2 separate regions of the Homo sapiens genome follow, and region 2 is linked to region 1. The links are contacts of gene promoters, found by promoter capture Hi-C in human tissues and cell types (Jung and others, 2019). All regions are on one chromosome and are shown on one strand. The core of a region is centred on a gene start or on the middle of the fragment in contact, and the rest is flanking DNA. Distances in the headings are between cores, read along the strand shown. Region 1 holds the start of SEPHS1 (selenophosphate synthetase 1). Region 2 has its middle 4.8 kb from the start of SUV39H2-DT.

Region 1 (3,256 bases), core at 345-2,844:
ACAGCCTCACCCCTACCAGGAAAAAAAAAAGAAAAAGAAAAAATCCAACTCACGAGGCATCCAGTTATTTTCCTACCTCCTATCTATTCCTCTCCTGGCTCCCAAAAAGGTGGGGAGGGGAATTGTGTGGCTATCACTTCCTTTTAAATTACTATCTTCTCAAGAGTTTTAAGGGTGGAAAAAAGTTTAAAACACCTTGTATCAGGAAGGCGCTCAGATTTAAAATTCCAAATGGTACTAAGGACACAAATCAGCCTCACATCCTAATGAAAAAAGTACTAGATTCTTACATTTTTGGAGGGCATGGGAAGGGGGAGGGGGTTCTGGGGGAAATGTGCAGTGATTAGGGAACCAGGGGGATCCATTTGCATTAATAAGGGACGGTGCCCGGCGACCCCGCAGCCACATGTTTACGCCTTTAAAACAATGGCATGAATATTTAAAGCAACGTTTAGCCCTTTCCTTCCCGGGCACATTTCCATGGTTTGGTTTTTTTTTTTCTTCCAACGAGCGTGGGGAGCCGGGGAGCCGGTCAGCGGGGTGGGCCCGGCGCGCTGCCCCGCCAACCCCGGACCTACCTCCCCGCCGGCCCCGCACAATGGGGCGCGCTCTCCAGGACGCCCGCGTCGGAGGCGGCCGGGGAGGGGAGCAAGGAACCCGGGGACACCTTCGGGCTCAGGCTCAGGCTCAGGCCCTCGCCGCCGCCTCGGAAGGCCCAGCAGGCCCGGGCTGCGGGCCGGCGGCGGGGCGGAGGCGGCAGCTCGGGGCCCCGGCCGGGCCATCCCTGTTCGGGCCGGCGGGAGGCGGCGGGAGCCGGCGGGCACCGCGCGTGCGGCCCAGGAGCCGGGGAGGACGCCGGGACGCACCCGCCCCGGGTCGACAGGGCCCGCGCGGAGAAAAGGGGAGGCGGGGAGGCCCCGGAGGCACCCCGCGACCCCAGGCCGGCCGCTCCCGCCGCGCGCACGGGCCGCCGCCGCCGCCGCGCAAAAATGTCGGCGGGCGAAAAAATTAACCCCTGCGTGGCCGCCGCCGCCCTCCCCTCCGCTCCTCCCCGCCCTCCCTCCCTCCTTCCCCGGCCCCGCGCGGCGGCGGCGGCGGCGCGGGCGGCGCTTCTTTTTTAAAGCGGCCCCACCAAGCCCGGCGCTGCCCCTCTCCAGGCAGGGCTGGCGGGGCCGGCGGCGCGCGGCTCCCCGGCGGTCCCGGGCGGCCCGGAGGGGGATTTGCAACGGCCGCCGCGGGCCTGCGGACCCAGATTCCCCTTTAAGCCTGCGCCTCCCCCCCGCGCCGGGCCCGCCGCTTACCGGCTCGCTTTGCGCCCTCCGCCTCCTCCCGAAAACGGGCCGCGGGCCGCTCCCACAATGCACCGGGCGCGGCCGGGCTCCCTTAAGCGTCGCCTGAATAAAAATGCCGCGCCCGGCGGCGGCGGCGGCGGCGGGGGCCCGGGCCCGCGCCTGGGCGCCGCGGGGGCTCGCCTGCCTCGGCGCGGCCCTGCGGGAGCCGGGCCGCCGCGCTCCCGCCGGCTGGGCGCGCGGGGGTCCTTTAAGGCCGGCCACCTCCCTTTAAGAGGCGGCCCTGGCTGCTGGGTGGCGGCGTGCGGCCCGGGAAGGGGGCGGGGGCGCCGTGCAGCCCCGAGCGCGGCAATGATTGGTCTCGGGGGAGGGGTGGGGGGTTGCAAACCCGAGGAGCGGTGGCATCCGTTGCATGATGCAAAAAAGGATTGATTTCAAAAGTTGCGAGTTGCATTGGCAGCCGCCCTTGGCGCCCGGGCCACCTTTTTCCCGGGCCCCGCTGCAAGGGCCGGGAACGTTTCCGCCACCTGGCCGGGCTCGACCGCGCGGCGCTCTGCGGGGCGCTGTCCCCGCTCCCCGAGTGCGCAGCGGAGCGTCCTGGAAGACAATGACCATGGGAACAATTTGCACAGGAGGCTAGGAGCCCAGGAAAAGCCGCCTGGGCGCCAGGCAGAGGTTTTTTGAAAACACAAACGGCGCGTTAGATGCTTGGGGACTCCCAGCATCTGTCCTTCCTATTGTTTAGCTCGGCTCCGGAGTTCACGGGAGCCTCGTGAAATGTGGAGACGTCCTGCAAAGTTTCTTGAACACTTCATGTGCGTGGTAGGAAGTCGAGGAAAAAGGTTTACGGTTCCCCGCTGGTTGCATTGTTTGTCCTGCACATGTTCGAGCGAACATGGCAGCCGCAACCCTGGATGTGTTCGAATTGACATCGAGGGGGGAGCTTCACGTCGTGAAATAACTTTTTTCTGGGCTTTCGAGATTCTAAAGCATTGCTGATGAAAATAAACCAAATACTTTCAGATATCGTTTAGGGCTTCTCTCTAAAACAGCAGTGTGCAGGAATGCCGATCGAACTTTTCTAGGCAGTAGGTCAGCATTTTCCAAATGTTATTTGGGAGCAGAAATGTTTTGGGTCACTGGACCGTGCTTTACGTGGCACGGCAGGTTGGCACGCTACGCAGATGCCCTTTTCGTTAACATTTCCGCTTGCCAGTTGCTCCGGGTTTTAATCCTGGGCTGGATGCAGAAGTGATGCCACCTCGAAGACAGGCTGCTCCTGTCTTTGTGTACTTTCTTCATACCCTGTAGTAAGTTTGCAAAGAACGTGTTAGTCTGCATTCTTTTATTTTATATTTATTTATTTATTTATTTTGAGACGGAGTCCCACTCTGTCGCCAGGCTGGAGTGCAGTGGCGCGATCTCGGCTCACTGCAACCTCCGCCTCCTGGGTTCAGGTGATTCTCCTGCCTCAGCCTCCCCAGTAGCTGGGATTACAGGCGCCTGCCACTGGAGGATGGCTTCTCCCAGAGGGGAAGACAGGGTCACGGTTCTCATTAAGAGGGTATTGTACTAGTCAAGCCCGGAGATGTACTTGAACTGAAAGCAAGGGGAATGCAGCCCAGGGAAGGGATTTGGTGTGATTTAGCACGTAGGAAGGAGAGGAAGAAGGATAAGATGACCCCCAGGTTTCCAGTTTGCGGGGGTGGGGGGTGGGGGAGGGAATGAGGAGCGATGCTAATAATTTATCTAAGAACTGCTGAAAGGCAAACAAGTTTCGGGGTGAGTTCAGCTTTGGAAATGTTAAATCTGAGGTCTGCCGGATGGTGTGGGGGTGGGGCTCAGAGTTGCAAATCTCAGGTCTGCCGGATATTCCAGACCAAAGTTAATAGGGAAACAGGTCCGGAATTTGGTGTGGGGATGGGGCTCAGAGATGCAAATCTGGGTGCCATCAGCATGTAAATGGT
Region 2 (3,157 bases), core at 569-3,068, 1.5 Mb after region 1:
TTTAAGTAAACTGATAAACTCAACAACTAGGAGAGGGGCTTTTACTTTTTACAGTTTTGTTTAGTTTATTTCTTCCAACAAACATGTTTTTCTTTTGAAATTAAAAGATCTCTTTAGGGCTGGGCACGGTGGCTTACACCTGTAATTCCAGCACTTTGGGAGGCAGAGATGGGAGGATCACTTGAGGCTAGGAGTTCCAGACCAGCCTGGCCAACGTGGTGAAACCCCATCTCTACTAAAAATACAAAAAATTAGTTGGGCGTGGTGGTGTGCGCCTGTAGTCTTAGCAACTCCTGAGACTGAATCCCTTGATCCCAGGAGGCAGAGGTTGCAGTGAGCCGAGATCACGCCACTGCACTGCAGCCTGGGTGACAGAGTGATACTCCATCTCAAAAAAAGAAAAAAAAAATCTCTTTAGTTTGAAGAGAAGGCTAGCCACATTCTGTTTACCAGAGAATATTCACTAGAGCCCTGAGATCCTCAGTGGGTTCCAGTGAAAACTTATTCATGTTGGCTGCTATGGAGTTAGTTGGTAGTACCCTTCTAAAAGTTTTTAAAGATCCAGAAACCAAACTTAAATTTTTTCATCATTATTTTGCATCAAATTATTGACAGAACCATGAAGAGAATTCAGATATGATTTTAAGTCCACAGAGTCTTTAAATACAGAAGCAGCTTTAAAGGTGTACTCTTTGTCCTAAGTTATTAGTTATTTCTTAGGATCTTTTTCCAAAGTCATAGAAAATTTGAAATAAAAGTGATTTTGGTATAAGCAATTCAGTGGCTTCAGAACACAGGAAAACACCAACTGAACTAGTTCTACTGCTAGGTCTACATGCTTTCAATTATGCTTTGAAAAACTTTTAGGATTTTATTTTGTGGTTATTGTTAGCTTTTAAAATAGATCTGGGGTGCCAAACTATGGCCAGTGAGTCAGATCTATCTCACCCCTGTTTTCATAGATAAAATTTTATTAGAACACAGTCACACTCTAATTGTATATGGGCTGGCTGTGGCGGTTTTCACATTAGAGTGGCAGAGATGAATAGTTGCACAAAGGCTGTGTGGCCCACAAAGCTTAAAATATTTACTGTCTGGCCTTCTACATAAAAAATTTGACACCTAAAGTACATTATTGAAACTTATAGAATAAAATAACTTCTTCTAAAGTTTTCTGCTATATTTATGTAATGCTTTACTTATTGGCTCCTTTCCCCACTAGATTATTAAGCATTGTGAGAGCAGATACTCTCAGTCTTAGTCACCATTTTGCCTCAGCCCCTACAACAGTACGTGAGCATAGTGGGTGTTCCTAAGTGCTTATCAAATAAATGAATTATGTGGAAGAAAAAATAATGTCATGTTTGTATGCTACAGGACAATGGCCAGTGAGTAGTACATCTGTTGTATATTTTATGGTTTGTTTAGAAACATAAGGAAGGAAAGGAATAGCACTGCTGACTTTATTGGTCAGCTTTGCATGTTTGTTTGGTTGTTTTCCCCTAGACTTATCAAATTTGAAATTGTCATCAATAAGTCCTCTACTGCCTAATGAAATTCTTCCACATTTTTTCGTACCCTCAGGTGATAAGTTTTTTCCTTGTGAATTTTTGAAAGATTTGCTGACAAAATTTTCTAGTGTTTTTTTATTTTTCAAGGTGAAAATAGCTTTAAATTTTTTGTTTGTAAGAATGATACATAGTCAATATAAAATTCAAATTCCAAAAGAAAAAAATATAAAACATTCTTTATTCTACCATCCAGAATAGTAACTATAAAGATTTTTGGTGAGTACCTTGATAATCTTTTCATGTACATCCTAGTTATCTTTGTTATATGTATGTCGTAGCAAAGATAATTGGGATGTACATGAGATACATGCAATTTATACTCATGAAATGTAAATATATTTCATGAAGTTTAAATATGTATATATTTAAATGTGGGGAAAGTAGTCAAGTAAGTGAAGTATTACATAAATATGGAAGAAAAGTTTTGAAGAAGTCATTTTATTGTGGAAGTTTCAATAATCTACCTCGGGTCAAGTTTTTTATATAAAAGGCCAGATAGTAAATATATACATATTTAAACTTAAACACTTTTACCACTAAAAGCTTATGTCAAATTATAGTTTTGCCTATTTACATCTGACATTGTCTGAAGAACAGAGCCAAATATAAAAATAGGAAGAAATACCTATGATGTGAAAGTCTTGGAACGTGTCTTAGTTTGGACTGCTATAATAAAGTACCATAGTCTGGGGGGTGGCTTGTAAACATCAGAAATGTATCATAGTTCTGGAGGCTGGAAGTCAGTTCGGGTGCTGGACCAGGCTGGAAGCGGGGCCGGGTTCTGATGAGGGCTCCCTTTTGGGTTGCCAGCTATCCTTATAACCTCACACGGAGGATAGAGGGCGAGAGAGCTCTGAAGGGTCCCTCTTGTAAGGGTGTCAATCCCATGCATGCAGCCTCCACCTTCATGATTTAATCACCTCCCAAAGGCCCCACCTCCCAATATAATCACTTTGGGGGCGAGGATTTCAACACTGGAATTTTTCAGAGATGAAAACGTTCAGTCCTTAACAGGAGGTCACAAAATATTCATCACAAACTGAAAGCTTTTATATGTATAAGAATTCTTAAAAGTATCCTAGCATAAAAGTTCTATGGGAAAAATCACAATATCTAAAATGATAATGAGTGACCATATAATACTGTTATTTGCTTTAATTCATTATCTCATTTTAAAATTTTGATCTCATCACAATTCCACGAGTAGTTGTACTATGTAGAGAGTAATATGGCCTTGGTTATTTCTGTTTTCCAGATAATAGATTCACAGCAGTTAAATAAAGTATCCAAGGTCTCACAGTGAATAAATGGTGGATTTTGAACTAACATTCAGATGCTTATTTTGTAAACTTAATTTTTCTTGACTGCTTACTATTTTAAGCACATTACATGGATTATTTCATTTAAATTCACATTCTTAATCTAGTGTTCATTCTATGATTCTTTGCCTCTCAGAAGAGAACGTTTATTTCAGTAGAAGAGGAGACACTCCAGAAATCATGTGGTCTTTGTGAAAAAAATACTGGGAAAGGGTCATGATTCTCTACTTTTCCCTTGAGGACCCTGGTGTGTGTCTCTCAGTGGCT

What was found. The method cuts DNA at HindIII sites, captures the fragments that hold promoters and counts their contacts. A contact is called where the count stands out against the background at its distance.
Region 2: a fragment that was not itself captured here is called in contact with the fragment with the promoter of SEPHS1 in region 1 in 1 of the 25 tissues and cell types used here (dorsolateral prefrontal cortex).

What each region holds. Positions count from the first base shown.
Region 1 is chr10:13,346,699-13,349,954 of GRCh38, forward strand. SEPHS1 (selenophosphate synthetase 1) reads right to left here and starts at 1,595. Exons shown (of 9, transcript NM_012247.5): 1 at 1,302-1,595. RefSeq lists silencers at 531-1,360, 1,491-1,710 and enhancers at 1,780-2,570, 2,571-3,256. The HindIII fragment of the contact is 27,088 bases long and covers 1-3,256 here.
Region 2 is chr10:14,872,294-14,875,450 of GRCh38, forward strand. It overlaps a transcript of SUV39H2-DT not described here. Among named protein-coding and RNA genes, the nearest start is that of SUV39H2-DT, 4.8 kb to the right of the region's middle. The HindIII fragment of the contact is 4,340 bases long and covers 1-3,157 here.